Regions from separate parts of the Homo sapiens genome. Here all the other regions are linked to region 1. The links are contacts of gene promoters, found by promoter capture Hi-C in blood cells and fetal thymus (Javierre and others, 2016). All regions are on one chromosome and are shown on one strand. The core of a region is centred on a gene start or on the middle of the fragment in contact, and the rest is flanking DNA. Distances in the headings are between cores, read along the strand shown.

What was found. The method cuts DNA at HindIII sites, captures the fragments that hold promoters and counts their contacts. A CHiCAGO score of 5 or more calls a contact.
Region 2: a contact is called between a fragment that was not itself captured here and the fragment with the promoter of CRIM1 in region 1, in 4 of 17 cell types (activated CD4 T cells, naive CD4 T cells, total CD4 T cells and 1 more). The highest score is 6.9, in activated CD4 T cells.
Region 3: a contact is called between a fragment that was not itself captured here and the fragment with the promoter of CRIM1 in region 1, in 9 of 17 cell types (M0 macrophages, M1 macrophages, M2 macrophages and 6 more). The highest score is 17.3, in M0 macrophages.
Region 4: a contact is called between a fragment that was not itself captured here and the fragment with the promoter of CRIM1 in region 1, in 1 of 17 cell types (monocytes). The highest score is 6.2, in monocytes.
Region 5: a contact is called between a fragment that was not itself captured here and the fragment with the promoter of CRIM1 in region 1, in 4 of 17 cell types (total CD4 T cells, total CD8 T cells, naive CD8 T cells and 1 more). The highest score is 5.7, in total CD4 T cells.
Region 6: a fragment that was not itself captured here is called in contact with the fragment with the promoter of CRIM1 in region 1 in 6 of 17 cell types (naive CD4 T cells, total CD8 T cells, naive CD8 T cells and 3 more); the score reaches 6.6 in naive CD4 T cells.
Region 7: a contact is called between a fragment that was not itself captured here and the fragment with the promoter of CRIM1 in region 1, in 9 of 17 cell types (total CD8 T cells, activated CD4 T cells, non-activated CD4 T cells and 6 more). The highest score is 9.6, in total CD8 T cells.

The regions. Positions count from the first base shown.
Region 1 is chr2:36,353,296-36,357,027 of GRCh38, forward strand. It overlaps CRIM1 (cysteine rich transmembrane BMP regulator 1), which reads left to right and starts at 2,483. Exons shown (of 17, transcript NM_016441.3): 1 at 2,483-3,328. The coding sequence starts at 2,998. CRIM1-DT (CRIM1 divergent transcript) reads right to left here and starts at 2,275. Exons shown (of 2, transcript NR_037631.1): 1 at 1,793-2,275; 2 at 1,454-1,686. The HindIII fragment of the contact is 11,087 bases long and covers 1-3,732 here.
Region 2 is chr2:35,910,412-35,914,143 of GRCh38, forward strand. No RefSeq gene overlaps it. Among named protein-coding and RNA genes, the nearest start is that of MIR548AD, 440 kb to the left of the region's middle. The HindIII fragment of the contact is 1,569 bases long and covers 1,219-2,787 here.
Region 3 is chr2:36,774,547-36,777,986 of GRCh38, forward strand. VIT (vitrin) reads left to right here. Exons shown (of 16, transcript NM_053276.4): 9 at 456-521. All of the region lies in intron 1 of LOC124905990 (a long non-coding RNA gene), which reads right to left. Among named protein-coding and RNA genes, the nearest start is that of VIT, 80 kb to the left of the region's middle. The HindIII fragment of the contact is 4,595 bases long and covers 1-3,440 here.
Region 4 is chr2:36,795,846-36,799,500 of GRCh38, forward strand. The region is part of intron 12 of VIT (vitrin); the gene reads left to right. The region is part of intron 1 of LOC124905990 (a long non-coding RNA gene); the gene reads right to left. Among named protein-coding and RNA genes, the nearest start is that of VIT, 100 kb to the left of the region's middle. The HindIII fragment of the contact is 1,901 bases long and covers 1,332-3,232 here.
Region 5 is chr2:35,857,918-35,861,636 of GRCh38, forward strand. No RefSeq gene overlaps it. Among named protein-coding and RNA genes, the nearest start is that of MIR548AD, 390 kb to the left of the region's middle. The HindIII fragment of the contact is 5,131 bases long and covers 1-3,719 here.
Region 6 is chr2:35,892,754-35,896,291 of GRCh38, forward strand. No RefSeq gene overlaps it. Among named protein-coding and RNA genes, the nearest start is that of MIR548AD, 420 kb to the left of the region's middle. The HindIII fragment of the contact is 7,448 bases long and covers 1-3,538 here.
Region 7 is chr2:35,875,114-35,878,325 of GRCh38, forward strand. No RefSeq gene overlaps it. Among named protein-coding and RNA genes, the nearest start is that of MIR548AD, 410 kb to the left of the region's middle. The HindIII fragment of the contact is 1,063 bases long and covers 1,394-2,456 here.

The sequences.
Region 1 (3,732 bases), core at 1,233-3,732:
CTTAAAAATAAATAGAAGCTAAACTTTGACAATGCTTATTACCTCCTTCTTTCCTAACCACAGTAGCTTTCTCACTTCTGCCTTTTTCTCATCACCTGACCTTGGCTTTTCCTGCAGGTCCTACAATGTTATCTGCTACATTTTAATGTCTTTATACTTGCATTTGAACAGAAATACAGATAACCTCCTCTGCAAGAGTGGGAGGGACCTTTTAACACAGAGCAATGATGACAGTTTGTTGGCAAATCCCACACTGAAGTGCTGGTGCCTTGTTCGGTGACAAGAAAGAACAATGTTTAACAATGTGTGTTTTATTTTTCTTCAGTTTTTTTGTTTGTTTGTTTTTGAGACAGAGTCTTGCTCTGTCGCCCAGGCTGGAGTGCAATGACGCAATCTCGGCTCACTGCAACCTTCACCTCCTGGGTTCAAGTGATTCTCCTGCCTCAGCCTCCTGAGTAGCTGGGATTACAGGCATGCGCTACCACACCCGGCTAATTTTTGTATTTTTGATAGAGACAGGGTTTCACCATGTTTCACCATGTTGGCCAGGCTGGTCTCGAATTCCTTACCTCAAGTGATCTGCCCACCTTGGCCTCCCAAAGTGCTGGGATTATAGGCATGAGCCACCACGCCCAGTCTCTTCGGTTTTTCTAATAGAAAACCTAGCATATTTTAAACGATTTTGCCACTTAACACTTATTATGGACCCACAGGGTATGAGGGCCTTTGGAGATCATCTAATCGGACTTCCCACCCAACTACAGGAATCATTTCATTGCAACAACTCTTTAAACCCGTCTAGAAAATGCAATGCTCTCTCCCCTTTTCCACGGTTGAACATCTTCCTCATGGCCCTATAATAATCAATGATAATTAATGAGCCTCTTCCTCTCCTTGGACAAAGAAATATGATAGGAGAAATGTTTAGTTTGCTGATGCCCATCATGGGGGAATAGTCCACTGGTAACTCTGGCTTTTGGGTTCAGGATTAGACAGAGTGGTTAAACTAAAATATTTATCGTAAGTATGAATTTGTTCCACAAACATAACATTTCAAAGGTAGCTTTGTTTCCTCTTTCCTTGCACTGCCAGCTATTAACTTTCGGTTCATTAGTCACGATTTTCAGAATCCACTTGGCTGCCACCTTCCTGCAGCCAGACCATCTTGGATCAGAGGGTGGGCCAGCCATTCCCACGTCACACCTGCCACGGGATCGATTTTTTCCCCCATTGACCACAGTCACTTTTTGTCAATTAATTAATGTTATTCACCTGGTACCCATCTTGTGAATGGTAGGTCACTACGGAGCGGATTACTACTTCATATCCCATCAATGACAGAGCCATCATTACGAAAACCTTTTCTGACAACCACTGAAGAGAAACCATCTCCACACCGTGCATTTTGCATCACTTCCGTTGCTTCTTTACCTGATTTATCACAAAGACTATGTACCACACATCTTCTTTATTAATGCATTGACAATCAGTGAAGACAATGAAAACCCACCACTTTTGTCCGTGAACTGAGAAAGAAAATGGCAATGTCATATGGCATTAATGATGCATGAGATCTATGGGTGTAGTGTCACGTCTAGGCGTGTAGTAATCCAGTCTTCGGCCTTACTCCAGGGAGAAAGATTCAGCTTTGTTACTTTCCAGTCACTCTCTCCCGTAACACAGCACCTTGGCACAGAAAGCAGAGCGACAAAACCCAGAATGAGGACAGTTAAAATTCAACTCAAGCTACAGCCATCCCAACGGTCCTCCCCAGCTCCCGCGGAATATTTACCAAGACCGTTTAAAGCACTTAATTAATTCACTTCAGCTTCGCTGGAGAGGTCTCAGGGTTCCCGAGACTCCATTACATAATATCTTTCACAAAGTCTATTCCCAGCTCGAATGGAAGATGGATTCTCATCCAGTGTGCGGAGGTTCCATGCCTTTGCTTCCCTTTCCCGGAGTTCGATCCGGCGATACCCTCCCGAGGCTGCAGCCATCGCCCCGGCCCCGAGCTTCTGGGGTACCCGCCACTCTTCGAACTCCAATCTGGCCCCGAAGGTGCAGCCGCCTCGCCCTCCTGGCTCCCAGGCCGGCCGCTGCGGCCACGGTGCCAGCGAGCGCCCGGGACACCGCGACTCTCGCTGCTCGCTGGGTGCGCCCCAAGCCCATCCGCAGCGCACCCGCGGCGCCGGGGCCAGAGCCGCAGCTCGGTGGCACGGCCGGCTCGGTGCGCCGGGCTCGGGGAGGAGGAGATCGGGAAGAGGTGGAGGCGTGTGAGGGAGGGAGGAAGGGCCCGGCCGCCCGAGAGGGGGAGGGGGAGGCGGAGGGGGCCGGCCGGGCCGGGGAGGGGGGGCAGCCAATGAGCGGCGCGCGGCGCGTGGGGGTGGGGGGAAGGTCTGGGGGAGGAGGTAGGATGGGGGAGGGCGCAGCCCGAGCGGCTGAGGCTCCAGCCATAAACAAGCGCCCGGAGGAGCGGCGCAGGAGTGAGGCGAGCGGGGCGCGCGGAGCGGACGCCGCGGATCTTGTGCTGCGCCACCGCGCCCACTCGGCAGCTCGGGAGGCGGGGACCGGCCCGGAGGCTGCGCCGCTGCGGGGCCGGCCGACTCGGAGGAGGAGAGGGAGGAGGCGCCGCCGGCCCGGGCTGGAGCCGAGCGCAGCAGCCACCGCCGCCGCCGCGCCAGAAGTTTGGGTTGAACCGGAGCTGCCGGGAGGAAACTTTTTTCTTTTTTCCCCCTCCCTCCCGGGAGGAGGAGGAGGAGGAGGAGGGGAAGCTGCCGCCGGCGCCAAGGCTCGTGGGCTCGGGGTCGGCGCGGCCCGCAGAAGGGGCGGGGGCCTCGCCCCGCGAGGGGAGGCGCGCCCCGGGGGCCCCGAGAGGGGCGGTGAGGACCGCGGGCTGCTGGTGCGGCGGCGGCGGCGCGTGTGCCCCGCGCAGGGGAGGGCGCCCGCCCCGCTCCCGGCCCGGCTGCGAGGAGGAGGCGGCGGCGGCGCAGGAGGATGTACTTGGTGGCGGGGGACAGGGGGTTGGCCGGCTGCGGGCACCTCCTGGTCTCGCTGCTGGGGCTGCTGCTGCTGCTGGCGCGCTCCGGCACCCGGGCGCTGGTCTGCCTGCCCTGTGACGAGTCCAAGTGCGAGGAGCCCAGGAACTGCCCGGGGAGCATCGTGCAGGGCGTCTGCGGCTGCTGCTACACGTGCGCCAGCCAGAGGAACGAGAGCTGCGGCGGCACCTTCGGGATTTACGGAACCTGCGACCGGGGGCTGCGTTGTGTCATCCGCCCCCCGCTCAATGGCGACTCCCTCACCGAGTACGAAGCGGGCGTTTGCGAAGGTACGGCCGCCCGCTGCGGGCCCCCTCCCACCTGGCCTGCGCCGCCCCCTCGGCGCTGGTTGTGCCGAACAAAGTTTGGGCGAGACTTTCTGGAGGAAAGAGGGCTCTGCGGGAAGAGGGGCGGCCGCCGCCCCCAGGAGAGTGCCCCCGCGGCCCTGCGTTCCCTCTCCTTGTTCCCCCCGACGCTTAGGCAGTCGCGGGCGAGGTTGGGTATGGTGGGTGGGGGCGAGCGAGTGGAGGATCGCCCCTGTCCCCGCGCAGACGCGCACACGTGTGGCCGTTCCTGCTGGGACTGGGTGGCCCGGCCTTGCTCCCCGAGGTGGGGGCGCCGCGGGCGGGGGGCACTGCAGATTCTGCCGCGCGCGAGCCCCTCGGGGAGCCCGGCCCTACCGCCCTCCCCGCAC
Region 2 (3,732 bases), core at 753-3,252, 440 kb before region 1:
ATACAAAAAGTAAGATACAAGCCAGGCATGACAGCTCACACCTATAATCACACCTATAATCCCAGCTACTTGGGAGGCTGACGCATGAGGATTGCATGAGGCAATATAGTAAGACCCCTCATTCTTAAAAAAACAATGTGTTAATTAGCTGGATGGCATGGTGCTTATCTGTAGTCCCAGCTACTTGAGAGGCTGAGGCAGGAGGATACTTTGAGCCCAGGAGTTTGAGGCTGCAATGAACTACAATTGTGCCACTGCACTCCATCTCGCATAACAGAGTGAGAGCTCATCTCAAAAAAATAATTAAAACATAAAAAACTGTATGAAAAACTACAAGGGAGGAATCTAGGGTTAACAATAGCAATGTAGATGTGGCGGAGGGGGGGGAAAGGCTTCCTCCTCTATTACTGTCAAATGGTTTATTTGTGCCAGATATTTTCAAGTGGAGAATAACAAAGATATAGCCAGCGAAGCAAGTAGCTTCAGAATCAACCTCCCAACAAGGGTTCCTAAGCAGCTCTGATGAAATTCATAAGAAATTATCACCAGAGTCAGTGTGAAGCAGCAATAGCTGCAGATACAAGGCTATCTGTGAGCTGAAAACCTCTTCTTGATCACTGTTTTTATGGGGTGTTATGTGCCTGGCACAACTTACCTCAGGAGCTGGACTTGGATACAGGGAGGAGAATGGAGACAGAATAAAAGCTTCTCATGGAATAAGTGTCCATGGGGCTTGTGGGTCTCTTGCCTGAAGCCAACCCCACTGTCACAAATGAGAAACATACCTAAGATGCTTTTTTATTTCATTGAGTAAAGTTCACTTTCTACACAATCATCCCATTATAGTCTGTCTTCTCTCTATATATGTCTCTATAAATTTTATCTATAAAATATATTCAAACTAAAATGTTATGAAGCACTACCTTTCATACTTTGATCATTTATTCACATTTCACCTTGAAGAAGAACTGTCCCTCATAGTTAGGCACAGATTTTATTCATGTTGGCACCACCTTGACCAGGAAGTAGATTTCTAAGAATTTTGGATAAAGAAGACTTTTCATAAAAGATATGTGCTTCCAATGACATAGATAGTAAAAATTCTAATTGATGCTGTTGGAATTTGACATGCATAGCTTTGTCTATTGCATTACCTTCACGTCAATCCTATATGTAGTCAGAGAAATGGGGCATCAATGAGGTAAATAGAGTAGAAAAAGCTTCACAGATTTTAAAGTTTAAAAATCTAGTTATGAATTAACCTTATAGAACAAATTCAAAAGCAACCAAAAATCTTATAAAACATAATGGCAAGTTTAAAAATGTTTTCCACCTTCAACCATACAACTTTAGGGCCAATTTAATGTGTATAAGTTAAAAACAAAACAAAAGGTCTTATTCTCTATGGTACTGGATAAGTGAACTGAAGGCATCTCACACTAAGGACGTGCTTCTATTTGAAAGCCTTAACCAGTCTCAGTAGCTTCTGTCTTTTTGGAGTTTCTTCTCTCTTTGCTTCATGAATTGTGTGAGGCTTTTGCTGAATATAAACAGTGCATCTCTCATTAGTGCCACAGACAATAGCTGCCTGCATCAATATTACAGGCTAACATTCTCCTTAGTGTCTTGTACTCAGGCATCTCTGCTTCCACTCTTTGTGACCAACCTACTCCTGTTAACCAGGCAGGTGCTACTTGATGTCCTACTGCCAGACATGCTTTCAACATAACCAGTCCAAAAGAGCAGAGTTAGCCCAGGATTTTATATACATGTAGCAACTTATTGGAAATGTAAGTCACTGTAAAATAAAACCCAACAAAATGGAGAGATGATCAAATCAAAGCAGACACACTGAAAGCATTTGACACTACCAAATTACAATATACCCCTCCTGGTCAGTTTAAAGAAAACAATAGACAGCAACAGAATCTAAAAAGAAAGTATTACTCCCTGTAAGTGGTTTGGCCAATTCTCAGATACAAGAAAAGTCTCTTTGAAGGTGCAACTTCAAATGATGAAATAGGTTATAACTGCAAAATCTAACACAAAACAGACAGAATTTAGTCCCTTGAGAAATTGAAGTTGAAGAGAGTCACAGTGTAAACCACAAATGAAGGATGTGGAAAATGGTCACCATCAATTTCAGCGGCTTTGGAAGGCATTTGGCAGCCTGTGCAGAAACACCAAATAATACCAAGTGATGGATTTAGCCCTGCTGTCACTGCTGAGCTGATGGATACAAATCACTCACCTTTTAAACTCCAAGTTGCAAAACTAGGATGCATTTGAGCTGTAGGGGGATCAAATGGATGAATGTTGGATACCAGCAAATCAGAAGGTACATACCCCAATGTAGTCTGTATCAACTTTCTTAAATTGGTTGCAGTAAAGAAAATTAATGTTCTCACTAAATTGTAAGAACTGGATTCTCATATCCAATGGTTTTATAATGATAGTCTAAGGAAAGGTAATGCAGTGGATGCTTCAGGTAAGGGACATTCCCAGGATGAGTTCCAATGCAGCAGGTGGGTGGGCCTGTGCCACCTCTGCATAAATCTGAGCAGAGGACAGAGTGTGAGCCAAGGTCATTTACCAGCCATGTGAACCTGACGTAGCCATATCAAAGGAATGTAAAAATGTAAATAAATATAATACAAGGTTGTCTGAGGGTTGAAAGAATTAATTCTGCAAAAATACACTGAAATGTATATGTCTAAGGATGGCCATTTAAAGCCAATCAACCAATTCTTCCTCCTCCCCAAATTTCTCTGAAATGACTAAAATACAAGCTTAAATTGTATTTTTAAACTTTATTAGTGCTGAAAAACAGGAAAGATACTTGTCATTAATACAAATATTTTTAAAGGATTTATTTAAGATGTAGTAAAGGTAAGATCAGGTTATGGAAAATAATAACCATTTGTCAAATCAATCAAAGTGATGGAGGTAAAGAAGGGACCCTATTGGCTTCTAAGTGAGCAGGGCTTTCCAACAGAGCTCTGGAAACTACTGAGCTAAAACTGCCAGGAGCTGTACAAATTCAAGAAATGAAAAGATTTCAGAAACTGCCCCAGTGCCCACCCAGATATATAGAAACTCACTGCGGCACTCATTTTCATCCTTCCAGCTAATGTGGCCAGCCCACAGGAAAGCCACGGGCCTTGCCACTCCAGACTCATACAAACACAGCCATGTCAGTAAGACAAGGAGTGAGATCTCACACACACCCATAAATGGTAAGAGAGTTAGGCCAAATCCCATTTTCTCTGATAGCTGTTTCCATTCTTCCCTTGAATAGAAGACTTTTTGATGGATTACAGGCATCCCAACCTTCCATTTCTTAGGGTAGTGGGTGGGGATAGGCCATAGATCAGGTGGCAGAAAACAAATCACTTAAACAACTTCAGGAACTGCAAGTATAAATATGGACACATACACACAACCTTTGCAGCAAAGCTAATTTTCCTGCCAAAATAAGAAAGTTCTTTCTTATAGCCAACATCCTAATTCTCAATTTCTGGCACTAAGGATAATACAGGAAACAAAATAGATACAAATTCCCACTCTTTCATGCTAATATTCTAAAATAAGCTTATTTTATTTTCTACCTAAAACTGGCCCTCTAGTTTGTATTGCAGCTGGGGAAAGAAGAACTGCATCTAGAAAAATATAACAATTATTACATCCATAAAAAAGATAAACCAAAGACAAGGAAAGAAGTTTTTCAGATGA
Region 3 (3,440 bases), core at 390-2,889, 420 kb after region 1:
GATACTCGTCCACTCTCCACATGTTCTTAGAAACTGTAGGTTCTGTTTTGCTTGCTACTGGATAGGAACAGGGGCCCAATGGGCTCCTCTGGTCAGGGCGAGCAGCTTCTATGAGCTTCACAATTGCACCTTTGCCAATGCACATGCTGTTGTCCTGGACAAAAAGGCTTGAGAATGAGAACACTGGCCAGGGCAAGGACTCCAAGGCCATCTTAGGCCTCTACAGACTCGTGGGACTCTACAGGAGCCCAATCCATGGAGCACTGTTTCCTCCTGTCCCCTTGGCCAAGATTTTTGCCTCCTCTGCAACCCCCAGAAGTACAACCAGGCACAGAGAGCTCGGCCGACTTCCAAGGAAAATCTGAACTAAGGTAATTTTCACCGGGGGCAAAATAAGGAAAGAAAGCAGCCTGCTGGTTGTGTGTAAATCGGCTGACCCTGTGTAATCCCCTCAGGTATCCAAAGGCAAGATCCTTCAGGAGCTGCCTTCCAGAAACCTGTTGGAGCGGATGTCAGCCTGGGTAAGCTGCCCACTGCTTACCATCTCTGCTCCCTAGGAATTTGCTCTGTGGCACTTTGCAAACATGAGGACCTCCCCACACACTTGTTCTTGGCCTCTGCAGCTCAACTTCAGGTCACCAGAGTTTGGGAGCATGCTAAGATATTTTAACCTCGAGAAAATGTCTCTTTGATTGATCTGTTCTCAGTGCATCAAAGAGAAAATCTTTGTCAACGAAGACATCCAAGGGCTGTCATTACTTTATGTCTCCTCAAGAGGTTCCCTCACTAAGCAGCCTCTTTGCCTCTCTGCACCTACCAGGCCCATCCTCAGACAGTCCTCCAGGATAAAGCACAAATACCCAGATACAGCACATGGTTCGGATATGGCATGGGGGATGGTTGGCAAGGAGGCACATAACCTGATTTGCATCTTCAATTTTTTACTGCCTGACAATTTTGGGTTTGTTTCAATGCTGTATTCTGCTGAATGTATTTGGCCTCATTCCCTTTTTCTGAGTTTACCATCCTCCAGTTCTATAGCTCTGGGATTCTCTGTTTCTTCTCCATTCTCCTTTATGCTCCCAATAATGCCACTCTGTCTCGACCCACACAGATGTTCCTAGATGTTCCTTTACCTTCAAATCCTACCCAATTTCTGCTGCTTCTCTCCTCACCATCATCCCTGCAACTTTGCTCTGAGTGCCTCAGAGTCTCCCATGAACTCTCAGAGTGTTCCTGACTTAAAGGACTCCCCCAACACACTCTAGGTGCTCAGACCTAGACTAGCTATGAAGCTCCATTATGGCTCCTACAGGGGAAGGAAGCCATTTGCACACCCTGAGTAAAGGCAGGTAAGAACATTTGGAGTTCTTAGATATCCTTCGACCAACTCTCATCTCAGATGCAGTCATGTATACAAGGCAAGCTGCCCAGTTCCTCAGCTATAAAATCGTCAGATTATGGAATTGGAAAGAATTGTATAAAGTACATCTGGTCTAACTTCTCACCTGAAAATGAATCACTTATGGTGTGCCAGACAGAGGCCTTTACCCTATATCGAATAACTTCAAGTGGTAGGGAATTCCCAGCCCCTTCATTTGGTGGGTGGCACTATTAGACGTAACTATCCAGAACTTCAGCTCCTCATTACTAATTTGTCTAAACCAGTGGTTCTCAAAGTGTGGTCCAAAGACCCCGCTTTCAGAGATTCTGTGACATCTTCCCTTCTCTGACTACATGTTGTTGTGAGGACAGATTTTCTCCACATATTTCAACAACAACAACATATCACAACTGACTGCAGGAGCTGATAACAGACTCCAGCTATCTTCTATTATGATAGACATTGGAGACATTTGCCACTCTTCTCACTGAAGCCTTGGTTTTAGAAAACAGTTTTTTTTCAGTAAAAATTAACGCTTACATTAAAATATAATAATTCTATTGTCACTTTGAAGTAAATTAATAGTTAGGCCGGGTGCGGTGGTTCACGCCGGTAATCCCAGCACTTTGGGAGGCCAAGGCAGGTGGATCATTTGAGCTCAAGAGTTCGAGACGAGTTTGGCCCACATAGTGAGACCCCGTCTCTATTAAAAATACAACAATGAGCCGGTGGTGCGTGCCTGTAATCCCAGTTACTCGGGAGGCTGAGGCAGGAGAATCACTTAAACCTGGGAGGCCGAGGGTGCAGTAAGCTGAGATGGCGCCACTGCACTCCAACCTAGGTCACAGAGTGAGACTCCATCTCAAAAAAAATAAAATGGCCTGGCGCGGTGGCTCACACCTGTATCCCAGCACTTTGGGAGGCCAAGGAGGGCAGATCACGAGGTCAGGAGATCGAGACCATCCCGGCTAACACGGTGAAACTCCGTCTCTACTAAAAACACAAAAAATTAGCCAGGCGTGGTGGCGGGCGCCTGTAGTCCCAGCTACTTGGGAGGCTGAGGCAGGAGAATGGCATGAACCCAGGAGGCGGAGCTTGCAGTGAGCCGAGATCACGCCACTGCACTCCAGCCTGGGCGACAGAGCGAGACTCTGTCTCAAAAAAATTAAAATTAAATAATAAAATAAAATAAGTAAAAATAAAGTAAATTAATAGTTAAACAAATTGTCAGTATTCTGTTTCAAATGAGAAAGTGCACAGTTGTAATTTCTAAATGATAAAAATTAATAGATATAACTCGTACAAACTAAAGGTCTTTGGGGTCTTTGACAATTTCTGAGAGCATAAGAAGGCTGAGAACCTTTGAGAGTGCCTTAAATTTGAGAGCCTTTCAAATACATGAAGCTAGACTTCATGTCTTTTTTTATATCTCATCTTTTCCAGGATATCTCTTTAATCCCTCCAATAGGTCTTTGCTGGACTTGGCAGTACACCCTCTAACTATGCTGTAGACTATTAATAATTCATACACCAGGGCACCCCGAGCAGAACACAGTGCTGCCAGGGTAGTGTGCCAGGCAATTGCCTCTCTAGTCCTCAATACTCTGCTCCCACTAAAACACCCCAACTTCCATTTGGGGTAAGGCTTGTCTCACCACTGGCTCATCTCCTACTGAGCTTGCAATACCTAAAGTCGCTGGGATTTTTTATCATATACCTCTGTAGAAGCAGGTCACCTCAATCCTGTCTAGACACAATCGAGTTTTTGAAGCCCACACTGGAAAATCACATATCTCTATTAAATCCTTCCTTCGTTTAGTCGGCTGCAATCTTCCTGAGTATTCGTTCTGTCATTGAATGTGTTAACATCCTTGTAATCTTTGTGTCATCTGGAAAATGGATAAACGTGCCACCTGTCTCCATTCCCTTTACTGATAAAAATATATCACATGGGGCAACCGAATCCTGCGATCCGCACTAAACACCTCCTTTGTGTTTAGATCAACCCAGACACAAGCAGTTACATGTGGACCTGATGATGCTGTCATCCTCCTTT
Region 4 (3,655 bases), core at 1,032-3,531, 440 kb after region 1:
GCTTTCTTAAGTGCAAGAAGCTGGGTTGTGGCTTGCAGAGAAAACAAGTGTGTTCAATTAGCTTTGTTCAGACATGAGTGACAATGCTATTGGTTGTGAGCTCAATGTTAATGAATCAATAATTTGGTGCATTCAGAAAAAGAAGAGGAAATTTGCTAGTCTGTATATGAGTCCACTCCAGAAAGTACTGAAATAATATCTAAAGGGTGTGATGAAGCTATGGAAAAGAGCCTAAACTTACGAATTCATGAGATCATGACTGATTAAAAAAAAAAAAAAAAAACATAGTGGGCAGCATAGTTGTAAGGCTAAAAGCCAAAGAAATTTATGGTCATGTTATCCAAATTCAGGAAAATGGTAAACCCTTCTCAGCTAATATCTTATTATAAAGATATACTGCATATAATTAACTATTTGTAAGAAGCATATATTAAATTCAATGTCTTCAAAGAAAAACACATGTAAAACAAGGTTATATATTGTTCTGTTGATGAAAATGTTGTGACCAGAGGCTCACAGGAACCAAACCTTGTATTTCCATTGGAAGGAATGGCTCAGTACTTGCTAATTCAGTGCTCATGGCAACTGCAACTTTATAGAACGTAACTGCCAAAACTAACAAGACTCAGCTGTGTATGTGGTAGGGGAAAGAGACAGGGAATCGACAATTGCTCTATAAAGTGATCAACATCAACCCAGAACCTTAATGATCAATATTAAGATATCAGGAAAATGACTAAGTGAAGAGGTTCAACATTAAATACTTTTTTTCTGTAAAAACTTTTTTTTTTAGTTTTTTGTTGTTGTTGTTTGTTTGTGTTTGTTTGCCCAGGCTGGTCTCCAACTCCTGAGCTCAAAGGATCCTCCTGTCTTGGCCTCTCAAAGTGCTAGGATTACAGGCGTGAACCACCATGCCTGGCCTGTAAAAACTTTTGAAAGGAACCTTTATATTTTTGCTTTTTAAATTATTTGTCGATGAGCAACGTTTAATTTATGATTGGCTACTATTTCTTGACAGTCACCAGACACCCTCAGGAAATTGTGCAAAGTGAGAAAATCTAGCCCACAAATCATTTTCAAATGTAATTCAGTTTTTATAAATTAAAAATTTTACTATTAATGTTTTACATTATAACTAATGTAAAAAATGTACAAATAACATTATGTTTGATGGACAATTACATATTTATTATTGTCAGTGTCAATTTTGCAATTTTTCATTTTGTAGCCAATATGTTTTTTTGTTTCAACCAATTTTTTTTTTTTTTTGGCTCTGAAAATGTTGATAACCCTTGGTCACTAGAGGAAGATCCAGACTTTAAGGACTCTGAAGCTTATACAGTTTGGGGGCTCTCTTAAAGTGAAGATCACAAAATGACAAATACTGTACACAATTAGACGTCTTGGAAGAGGCATTATAACTTCTTAGTTAATCTGTTTCTGTGAAACACTTAGAGCCAACTGGATAAAACATCCACTGCAGAAGCTGCCCTGGTTAGGACCAGGTAGGAAACTCTGGCAATATTCAGGAAAGAGATGAAAGCCCAAACTTGGGGACGGAAAGGATGGGAGAAATGTGAGAGATATTTAGAGGTAGGTCTGACAGGACGTGGTATTTGATGAGGAGAGTGTCAGGAACACACACTGCTGGATGACTGAGTGAGTCAGAGAGGAAGGCAGATGGGGAGATGGGTGGTTGGGTGGATCAGGCTTGGAAGATAAACAACTTCAGGTTTGGAAATATCTAACCTGAGGTGCCTTCCAGAGGAAGCTGTATGGAAGCCATTTTATGTATATGTGAGGTTCAAGAAAGGGGACCAACCAGTGCACAGACAGCTTTTGGCACATGAATGGTCTGTGAGTCCTGGGAGTTGATGAAATCTCCCAGGGATGTGCATAGCCAAGAAGAGATGCATGATGGGGCTAGCACCCTATGGAACACCAAAGTTTAGAGGTTTAGAGATGCACAGAAATAGAACAAAGAAATGTTAATGCTGTTAATTGAGTGCCTGTAGGCGCCACATATTATGCACGGTGTTGGTTAGAGAAAGCTGAGTCAGGCAGAGAGATTGTCAGCTGGGGCTGGGAGTAAGGGAGATGGGTCGCTGAGCTTGGAGGGTGGGCACGATTGGGGCTTTCCAGATGAGGGAAGAAGTGAGCAAATGCACAAAGCTAGAAAAGTGGGAAAGGGTGAACAGTTCATTTTGACTAGAACATGGAATATCCTAAAAAAGAGAGTGAAAGAGAGAATAAGAAAGAGAACAGCCTTAACATGATAGTTGGAAATTAAATTATGGATGCTTTGAAAGCCAAAACATCAAGTTTAGCAATGGGAATTTCTGATGATTTCCAAGCAGGGGAATTTTGCGGGCAGAACTGAGGACTGAAGGTTCCTCTAGCAGATGGCCACACAACTAACACTACAGAGACCAACACAGGGATTCTTAGGGGCAGCCAGAAGCATGGGGGCCAGGACTCCCGGTGTTACAGTAGACATACAGGGTAGGGAATAAAAGCGAATGAATGTATGTAGAGGAATGGCCAGGACCTGAGGGATGGGGGCTGATGGGCTGTATAAGTAAAAGTGTACATAGCATTTACTGAAATTGCTTTGTAAAAATATAAACCCAGCCACGTACAGTGGCTCATGCCTGTAATCCCAGCACTTTGGGAGGCCAAGGCAGATGGATCACGAGGTCAGGAGTTCGAGACCAGCCTGGCCAACATAGTGAAACCCCGTCTCTATTAAAAATACAAAAACAAATAAGCCAGGCATGGTGAAAGGTGCCTGTAATCCCAGCTACTCCAGAGGCTGAGGCAGGAGAATTGCCTAAACCCTGGAGGCAGAGGTTGCAGTGAACCAAAATCGAGCCACTGCACTCCAGCCTGGGCAACAGAGCAAGACTCCATCTCGAAAAAAATAAATAGATAAAATTTTTAAAAAATGAACCCATAAGCCCTAGAACCCGAGGGGAAGAATACAGAGTGAAAGCCACAGTGCTCCTCCACTGTGTGACTCCTCCTCCCTGAATTTGTGACTTTAGCCTCAGATCAAGACACTTCACACTGTAGGTTGATAGGAAGGTCACGCCCAGCTCAACACCCCCATTTCCCCCATTCTGCTGATTGCTGTGTTGTTGTTTGTTTCTGTTTAGTCCCAACCATAGAACCTGGTTTTCTTCTGGTGAAATTTCATCTATTTGGGTTTTTCTCCAGTGCCCCACTTTGGTTAAGCTTGTTTTAAATTTCCTGTCTTCCCTGAAGGTGTCCACTCTTTCTGTTTTTCATCCCTTGCCTTGTAAATAAGCCACCCTCTGGGGATAGCATAGATCATTTTGAGATAGAGAGCAGTTTGGAAAACAGGGATGGAGGAAAGGAAGCGGGGAGGCAGACACTTTCTCCTCTCTCCCAGGTCCTGGTGACTGGTTTCCTCGTGACTGCACCACTTGTCCCGGTCCGCATGGACTCACTAAGAATCAACCCATGGTCAGCATCCTTGAGGTTCCCACCTGAAACTGCCCACAACCGCTTCTTCCTGGATCCATTTCTGGTGTTTGTAGAAAGGCTACTTTAAAAAGTTTTCTTGGCCAGGCATGGTGGCTCACATCTGTAATCTTGGCACTTTGGGAGGCCAAAACAGGACAATAAGCTGCTT
Region 5 (3,719 bases), core at 1,069-3,568, 500 kb before region 1:
TTGGAATTAGGATTCACTGGAAATAGTATTTGCTGTTCATTTGAATTGAAGGGAAATAAACTCAGCAGCTGTGTGGGTGACCGTATGCACTAAAATGGGAAAAAAAGTTACAAAGCAGAAAGAATAGGGTCATCACAAAGACAGTGCAAAATGGGAAGCCAGGCAGGAAGTGGGAGAGAGGCCAAGAGAGAGAAGTAAAATGACTGACTTCTTGATGACTGAAGACTTCCCATTCCATCCTTGGGTTTATTGCAATTAAATAATTCTTTTATGCTAAAGAAAATTGTGTCTGACTTATTTTGAAGTATAGAATTTATGAAATGTATCTCTAGTAAGACATGGTGTTTCCCCAAGGTCTGGTTATTTTTATGCTAAATTCTAATGTACTATATGGCATGAGCAGGATTCTCCAACAGAGGCTAAAGGATAAAGCAAGGCACTTTGGAAATTTTAAGTGGTAAGAAGAGATTGCATTTAGCACCACCTACCAGAGAGCATTTGTGTTATTCCAAGGCAGGAGTGTTAAATCTTCATAACTTCCTAGTGGGGCCATGGATAGAATTCAGGTAGTTCAGGAACTCCGACAGGAAAAAAAAGATACCCTTAGTTTTATCAACCTCTACCTAAAAAATAGCAATTTCCTTCAATTATGGATGTAGGAAAATAATCAGTAATTTAAAGGAATAACTGTAACTTTGTCATCAATCAAAATCAGACATTTTCATATCTCACTATGATTGTTCTTGAAATCTTGACCTATTATTTAGGTAGATCACAACTTAATGATGGTAGGTAGGTATTAGACCCACCATTAACTAGTGTTATTTAATGCATAAATAAGGAAGCACATAATTATTATATCATAAAATTGTTTAATACTTTGATTCTACATTTCAATATAATTGGCTTTCTTCGTAATCCTATGTATTTTATTATATACATGTTAAAACATTATTCTAAGAAAACCTTCACCAGATTTTCAAATAGGTGCAGGGCAAATAAAAAGATTTAGAAACGCTACTGCAGATACTAAAGACAGGGGAGAATTAGGTAATTTGATTATGAGGATCTAAAGAATCAAATCAATAGAAACCAGGGGAAAACCAGGCAGAACCAGACTCCTAAATTTCTGAGAGTTACTATATTTCTTATGCCCATATTTGGACTTTTTATACCTACTGTGTTAAACATTTGAATGTATCTTTGAAGGATCTTAGCAACAAATATAAAAGATGGAACATTTTGTTTCTGCTATAGTTTAAGTCTCTGTATGCTACAGTTGACGAGACATCAGGCTGTATTATACTGAGTCAAATCACTCAAGTGGACTACCAGTTAAAGAATATAAACGGATTTGGGTTTGGAAGAACTAATGAAAAAAATGTAAACCTTATCACATCCATTATTTATTTTCTCTTATAAAGAAATGTTAAAGTCATTTTTTCATAACTTAAAAACCTATGTTTATATATAGTCTAGTTTTGATTTTAAATAAGTGTTTTGTCAGCCCCCAGTTATCACCTAAACTAATTTGAGAAACAGAATTTGTGACTAGAATTACAAATGAGTGGGTTTGGAACTTATGGCACTTAGGGAGTAAAGGACCATCAACAGTAATTACTTCATTTCCCCTTGAAGGCCCCTGAGAAGAAAAGTATAGCGTTTTCCTACTGAGGAAACTCAGTGTTCAGTAGACCATGCACAATTATAAAATTAGCTAATTGATAACTTATTAACATTAGAAGCATGCATGTTCATTAGTAGATAGACTTTTAAAATACATTTCTGTTCCAATTCCAAATGAATATTTTAAATGAGACCTATCAAGAAACTTTGTTTTAATTAATTTTATATTTCATCCTTTGTATTGTTTATCTCTGATTAGTTCTAGTCTCTTTTAGAAGTTCAAGCATAAGTAAAGGAAGGCACCCACTATGAGATCTTTGAAGTTTCCTGCAATTACAATTTGATCCTTGTCATTATTCTAAGAATACTGAAAATCATCAGCAAAACTGCAACAGAGAGCAGCCCAGATAAAGAAAGGCCACTTCTGACTGCCTTCTTAACATAGGAAGGCACAATCCTTAGTTCTCAACTGTATGAGGGCAATGAACACTGTATAAAGGAAGAATAGCTGATAGGAGCATAAACATGTGCTCAATATCCCTGAAGATCCATTTTATGAAAAGACAGTTTGAACTATTCCGCTTGATCTACAAAATTCTGTAGTAAATTTTGCTCTGCTGAAAATAAGAATGAAGGGAGAAAAATAGAGATTCCCTCTATATTGCAATGGTCAAACAAAGGTTAACTAAACAATGAAAATGCTTGGTTCTAAAAATCTCTTAATGCTGTGGTTAATGGAAGTGTTTGAAAGCTACTTAATAGAAGGGTAAAGCCACGTGTCCTAGGGAAAGTGATTTCATGGGCCTCAGATAACTCATGAGTAAAAGGAAAAATTTAACAATCCTTTCACAGGGATGTTGTAAGGATTTCAGGAAACAATAAAAGAACAGTGCCTACTAAAGTGCCTGACACATAGCAGATACTCAATACATTTTAGTACCCTGCCTTCTTGTGCTATTTCTTGTATCCCTACTGACCATCAAGTGGAGTAGCACAATCAAGAACAAATGAAATGCATGTTGATTTCAGGTGTCAGGTGAGATAAAATCAAGAGGAAAAACAAACATAAATTTAAAGTGATTGAACTTGAAAAGGGACTAAGGCTAAAGGAAGTAAAGGGAAGAGATGGCAACAAAGGAATACATCTCAAATGAGTAATAAAATAGCTCACGCTTAGATGTCCTTATTTCCGAGTTTGAATCTGAGAGCTTTTTTTAGTTTCTCCTGAGTCTATAGTCTCTGCAGTATTCTCCCTCAATTTCCAGGAAAATTCCTGTCTTTATGATGTTTCCAATAATTTAAAAGATATGAATTTACAGCAGTACATAATAATCTTTCTTATTGCATAGTGTCTTAGGGGTAATTAGAGGATGAAATTTTCTATTTTAGAATGCTTGCTATGGTCTAAATGTGTCTCCCCAAAATTCATATGTTGACATCCTAACCCCCAAGGTGACGACATTAGGAGGCAGGGCCTTTTGGAGGTAATTAGGTCATGAGAGCAGAACCCTCCTGAATAGATTAGTGCCCTTATGAAAGAGGACCAAGTGAGTCCACTGTCCCTTCTGCCAAATGAGAACATAGTGAGAAGTCAACAGCCTGCAACTCGAAAGAGGCCTCTCCCCAGAACTCAACCGACCATGCTGGCACCCTGACCTCACCTCTGGACTTACGAGAAATAATTTTCTGTGTTTAAGCTGCCTAGTTGATGATATTTTGTTATAGGAGCCCAAACAGACTAAGACAATGCCATAGCCCAAATGGCTGCCTTATTGAAGTTAGAATGAGGGACGAGAAAAAGAGAAAGGAAAACAAAGAGATGAAAGGAAAGAAAGAGAAAAGGAGGGAGGGAGATAGAGAAAAAGGCTGAAAGAATGAATATAATTCACTTTTTAAAAATCTGATTTCAATTCGGTGAGTAGAGGTTGGTTTTGAGAACAGAGACTCATCGTGTTTCTGTAAACCAAAGTCCAATAAGGCATGGATTGTTTGCAAAAATAGAAGAAAGTACATCACCCTTCCCTTCTACTTTTTCCTCTAGAATCCTATTTATACTTCTTTGTTGCTATACCTTCAGGAATGCAAAATGGAAC
Region 6 (3,538 bases), core at 670-3,169, 460 kb before region 1:
TGTTAAAGTCTCCAGCTAGTATTGCACTGGGATCTGTCACTCTCTTTAGCTCTAATAATATTTGCTTTACATACCTGGGTGCTCAAGAGTTGAGCACATATATATTTACAATTGCTACATTATCTTGCTAAATTGACTCCTTTGTCACTGTACAATGACCTACTTTATTTCTTTTTCTAGTTTTTGCATTGAAATCTATTTAGTATAATATAAGTATAGCTACTCTTTCTCCATTTTGGTTTCTATTGGCATGGAATATCCTTTTCCAAGCCTTTATTTTCAGTCTATGTGTCTCTTCATAGGTGAAGTGTGTTTCTTGTAAGCAACAGATGTTTAGGTCTTTTTTTTTATTCATTCAGCTACTCTATTTTTTTAATTGGAGAGTTTATTCCATTTACATTCCATATTATTACTGATAAGTAAGGAATTACTCTTGCCATTTTGTTATTTGTTTTCTGGTTGTCATGTGGTCTTCTCTTACTTCTTTCTTTCCTTTCTCTCTTCCTTTTAGTGAAAGTGATATTCTCAAATGGCATGTTTTAATTTCATGTTTTATATATTTTGTGGATCTGTGGTATGTTTTTTTATTTGAGGTAACCATGAGGCTTGCAAATAATATCTGATAATCCCTTATTTTAAACTGATGGCAATTTATCACTAATTGGGTAACAAAAAAACAAACAAGTAAAGAGAAAACTAATAAAAACTGCATAGTTTAACTGCATTCCCCTGATTTTTAACCCCTTGTTGTTTCTACTTTTATTATACTGAAAATTTGTTAGAGTATTATTTTTAGAATTTCTGCTAATGATTTGAGTAGTTTATTCACCACAATTACAGTGTTACACAATTTTGTTTTCCTGTGCACTTACTATTACCAGTGAGTTGTGTACCTTCAGATGATTTTTTTTTTTTTTTTTTTTTTTGCTCATTAATGTCCATTTCTTTCAGCGTGAAGAATTCCCTTTAGCATATCTTGTAGGACAGACCCACCCAGTGTTGATGAAATTTCTTAGCTTTTGTTTTTCTGGGAAAGTCTTTATTTATCCTTCATGTTTGAAGAATACCTTTGCTGATGTACTATTCTAAGACAATAGTTTTTCTCCTTCTACACTTTAAATATGTCATGTCACTTTCTCCTCCCTATATGGTTTCCATTGAGTAGTCAGCTGCCAGACATATTGGAGCTCTATTGTATGTTATTTGTTTCTTTTCTCGCTGCATTTAGGATCCTTTCATTATTCTTGACCTTTGGGAGTTTGATTATTAAATGGCTTGAGGTAGTCCTATTTGAATTAAATCTGCTTGGTGTTATGCAATCTTCTTGTACTTGAATATTGGCATCTTTCTCTAGGTTTGCCAAGTTTTCTGTGATTATCCCTTTGAATAAACTCTATAATCCAATTTCTCTCTCTACCTTCTCTTTAAGGTCAATACTTCTTAAAGTTGCCCTTTTCAGGCCATTTTCTAGATCTTATAGGCATGCTTGATTCCTTTTATTTTTTCTTTTGTCTCCTATGACTGTGTGCTTTCAAATAGTCTGTCTTAAAGTTCACTAATTCTTTCTTATGCTTGATCAATTCTGCTATGAAGAGATTCTGATGCATTCTTGAGCCTGTCAATTTTTCAGCTCCAGAATTTCTACTTGATTCCTTTTAATAATTTGAAACTTGGTGTTAAATTTATCTGGTAGGATTCTGAGTTTCTTCTCTTTGGTGTATTAAATTTTGTTAAACTTTCCCAAAACAGCAATTTTGAATTCTCCATCTCAATGGTCACATTTCTGTCTCTCCAAGATTGGTCACTGGTGACTTACTGAGTACATTTGGTTAGGTCATGGTTTCCTGGATGGTCTTGATGCTTGTAAATGTTTGTCAGTGTCTGGGCACTGAAGAGTTATGTATGTATTGTAGTCTTCACAGTCTGGGCTTGCTTTTACCCAGCCTTCCTGGGAAGGCTTTCCAGGTATTTGAAGGGACTTGGGCATTGTGATCTAAATCTTTGGTCACTATAGCTATATCTGCTTTAGGGGGCACTCCAAGCTCAGTAATGCTGTGGCTCTTGCAGACTCACAGATATACTGGCTTGGTGGTCCTGGGTAAGATCTGGAACTATTCCCTGGATTACCAAGCAAAGACTCTTGTCTTCCCATACTTTCCCCCAAACAGATAGTGAGTGTGAGTGTGTGTGTGTGTGTGTGTGTGTGTGTGTGTGTGTGTGTGTGTCTTGCCCAAGGCCCACAGTAACCACAGTCTGGCTACTGCCAGTGTTCACTTGTGGCCCAAGGGCTTGACAGTGATCAGGTGGCAAATACATCCAGGCTTGTGTTCTTGCCTTCATGGCAGTGAGTTTCCCCAGCCTCAGGCAAGTCTGAGGATGCCATCTGGAAGCGAAGGCCTGAAATCAGGAACCTTAGGAATCTACCTGGTGCTCTACTCTACTGTGGCTGAGCTGGCACCCAAGCTACAAGACAAAGTCCTTCTGACTATTCCCTCCCCTTTCCTCGAGCAGAAAAATCTCTCCCTGTGGCCACCACTGCCTCTGGCCCACAGCAAGTACTGACTGGTTACAGTCAATGTTCACTCAAGGCCAAAGGGCTCATCAGTCAGTTTGTGGTGAATGCTTCCAGGCCTGAGTCTCTTTCTTCAGGGAAGGGTGGGCTCCCCCCTGTCCCAAAGCAGGTCCAGAAATGTCATCCAATAGCCAAGGTCTGGAATTGGGGACCCCAGGAAGTGGCTTGATGCTCTACCCCACTGTGACCAAGCTGGTACCCAAGCTGCAAGACAAAGTCTTCTTTACTCTTTCCTCTCATTTCCTCAACCAAATGGACACTCTCCCCATAGCACCACAGCTGGGAATGTGTTGGATCACACCTGAGGCCAGCACACCTCTGAGTCTCACCCAAGGCCTGCATTGAGTACTGCCTGGCTACCACTGCTGGTTATTTAGGGTCCAAAGGCTCTTTACACAGCAGGAGCCTAATAAATCCTACCAGGACTGGGTCCCTTCCCTTCAAGGCAGAGGATCCCCTTCTATCCCTATCCCAGGGGGATAGGACTACATTTAGGAATGTAGTCCTGTAGCTAGGGCCCGCAATGGGGGCCTCTGGGCTCTGCTGGGTGCCCTATCCTACTGTGGCTGAGTTGGTATCCAGGTTGCAAGACAAAGTCCTCTTTACTCTCCCCTCTCCTTTCCTCAGTCAGAGGGAAGGAATCTCTCCTGGAGCTGTGAGCTGTACTACCTGGGCTTGGGGGAAGGTACACAAGCACTCCCTTGACCACCCCAGCTGGTGTCTCACTAGGTTGCTTGCAGCCTAAGCCCACTGGCTCCAAACCCACAGCACCAGGAGTTGCCCAGGACTTGCAGTCCTTGTGGCCTAGACTGCCTTTCAAGTTTATGTAGGACCCCATAGCCTTTTAGCCCATGATGGTGAGGCTTGCTGGAACTCAGGTTCCCGCTGCTGGGATGGATTATTCACCTCTGGCTAGGGAAGGTCTAGATGCTCCCTCCGTGGGCACTGGATGAGTTTTGCCCCATG
Region 7 (3,212 bases), core at 675-3,174, 480 kb before region 1:
GTACTGTATGCCTCCTGTGTCCATGCTGGTACCTGAAGCCAGCAAGTCTCAGAGGCTCAACTAAGGCCCTCAACATAGTGCCTTGGTATCACTGCTTGTTATTTGCAGCCCAAGGGCTCTTCAGTTAGTAGGTGATGAATGCGGCCAAGACCCCTTGAAGACAATGGGTTCCCTTCTGGCCCAGGCTGTGTCTAGAAATGTACAGGAGCTGGGGCCTGTAGCAGGAACCTCACCACTCTGACTGGTGCCCTGTCCTGCTGTGGCTGAGCTGCTATCCAAGATGCAAGACAAAGTCCTCCCTCTCTTTCCTCTCCTCTCCTCAGGTGGCAGGAAGGGGTCTCTTCTGGAGCCCTCAACTGTGCATTGTGGGATTAGGGGAGGGAGATACCAGCACTTTCTTGGCTGCCCCAGCTGGTGTCTCAGTATGTCAGGTGCCCCTACAGTCAACTGTCTCTGGGCCTAGCTCAGCCCTAGGGCTCACCTACGAGTTGCAATCCTTGTGATCTAGAATGCCTTACAAGTTTACTTAGAGAACAAGAGCACTTTGGCCCCCAGTGGTGGGGTTTGGGGGCACTCAAGTTCAGACGGTTGGGATAGGCGATTCCCCTCTGTCTAGGGCTGGTTTAAATGCTCCCTCTGTGGACAGGTGTCAGCTGAGTTTGGTCTAGTTCACCTTTGTGCTCTGACAGGACAGCACTGAGTTCAATGACTCACAATTGCTGTGTTCTCCCTCCTGCAGTACCAGAGAGGGTCTCTATAACACGCCACTGTTGCAGAGGATGTGGGGGGAGCAGTGGCTTCAGTGATTCCAGACTGTATTTTCTATCTCTTCAGTGTCCCTTTCAGGGATATGAGGATAAAACCAGGTACCGTGAGAGCTCACTGATTTTTTGGTTCTTATAAAGATGTTTTTTTTCTGTGTAGATAGTTGTTAAATTGGTGTCCTTGTGGAACCTTCTATTCCGCCATCTTTTACCGCATCTCCCCACCTAGATTAATTAAATTTTTATTCTTTTTTTTTCCCTTGATGTTTTAGAGATTTGATTATCTGAAAGCAAAGACCTGTGCCCATGTCTGTAAAATTACTGTCCTGGATTACAAGTGACTCAGTGGCAAATTATTGTAATTCTACCTGAATGAGGAATGAGGTACCAGAAATTTTGTAATAAGGTCACCTCTGTGGCTTATATTTGGTTGTTGCTCCTGGCAGCCCAGTTCCCAGCCTGGTCCTCCAGCCTTCTACAATTCTGTTAGCTATACAAATAATTATATGATTCATTCGAAACAGGCATTTATTGCTTACACTTAGGAACCTGATTAATACAATTGGCAAAACTATTACACAGCCTTTAAATGAATTACCAAGCAGACCGCACATGGTCTCTTTCTCTAAAGCTTATTACCTCTGAGAACAAGTAGTTTTTTGAGCACCTCTCTTTCCTCAATGTGCATTTTTTCAGCAATCTTGCATTTCATTTTCAACCTGATATCACGTGTTCTGTTTCTTTAAAAATGTGTCACCCTTTTACTTTTTTGGTGTTCATGCCCAGGTTTCTAAAATTCCTATGTATTCCATTTTCTTTTCTATATGCTTTCATGAGATTTGGGCTGGTTGAGATTTGGGCTGGTAGGAAGAGTAAATCTTATTATCTAGGAAGCTATATCGAACTAAAAGTTATTTTATTTTGTATATGTTTTTTCCTGTTTTATTTCTAAAAATAAAATTGCTATATAAGTATAGTTAAAATTCTGTTTATATATGTGTATGTGTGTACACATATATGTGTATGTAAACTACATAGATCATTTGAAGACCCATAGAGTTTCTAACTTAATGAGGATGAGAGAGAAAACAAGCAAAGGCGATGGTATCCCATCTTACTGCACTGATGGGAGGCTATTATCATGATTGATACAGTGAGCTTGCTTTGAAGTTACATTGATTGTCAACCAACTGAATAAACATTCCATCCAAACTTAGGCCACATAGCTCCTCATTTGCTTTCAACAAAAATAATCTGCAGTGTGTTTATTTTCTCTTTTTGTTTGCATGTTTGTTTGCCTAAACCCTTGTTTTAGATGGACTCATGAAAGATAGGGTGGTGTCTATTTATTATGGTAAATTCGATATTTTCTGAGCTTCAGGTCTTCTAATTAAGTCATTACCTAGCTTTATTTAACATAGTGGTTCATTTAATTTTAAAAATAATTGTGCTACCAAAAAACCTTGAATAAAATAAATGTTTTATGAACTGAATCCCACTTTAAGTATATCCAAGTTCATTTAAGTGAATATTTTTAAAGCTAATAAAACTTCAATACTTTTTAATGCAAAGTTGTGGACACATAGTAGATACCCAATCATAATATTTATATGATTGATATTGCCCTCCCCTGCCCAGGAAAAAAACTTCTAATTTACCTAGTTTTTCTTTTTGTTATATTTAAATCTTAGAAGCTTATATTAGGTTTTCCAAAGGTAAGACACACCTGCATATATCTTTTAACGGCTTAATTTTCCACTTGCCTCAACATCACATTTCCTATTAGAGCCCTGAAGGCATTCTCTGTTTCTCTGTTTCCTGTAGCTTTGCTAGTTTTCTTCCGGTGAACTAAGATTTTTCGGGCACTCTATTTTCAATGTACTTTAAACTTCTGACTCTACTCTCTGAATTTTCCTGCTTCTCTTTAAACTTGAGTCAAGCTGTCAACACCACTTATTGAATGCCTGCTGTGAAAAAGATACAAAAGGAATCAAGACAACATTTTCTTTTCTAGGAGAATGTACAATCTACTTGATGAGACAGACTATACATTCCCATTAAAATAGACTAAAACATGCCAAAATAGCTTGAAATAAGAATGTATTAATTAAGTATATAAGTGTTAATATGTACTGTGAAAGAATGCTATGTTCTATAGTACTGAGAGAGACTGATATGGAAATTCCTTTTACATCTGAGTTTTGAATCTCAGGCCTATCAGATGTCATGCCCTTTTACATAACAAATATTTTATGATACTCCCATTATTATCCTAAAATGAAATTAATAAATGATAAAATCTAACAATGAGCATAATTTTAATGAAATTAATATAATGCTACATAAAAGAGAATAAAACAAAAATAATTCATTATCAGATAACATGTATTTTAAAATAAAACTCGTCAGACATGCACACTAGCTGACAACATAGTGTCAGATGATACT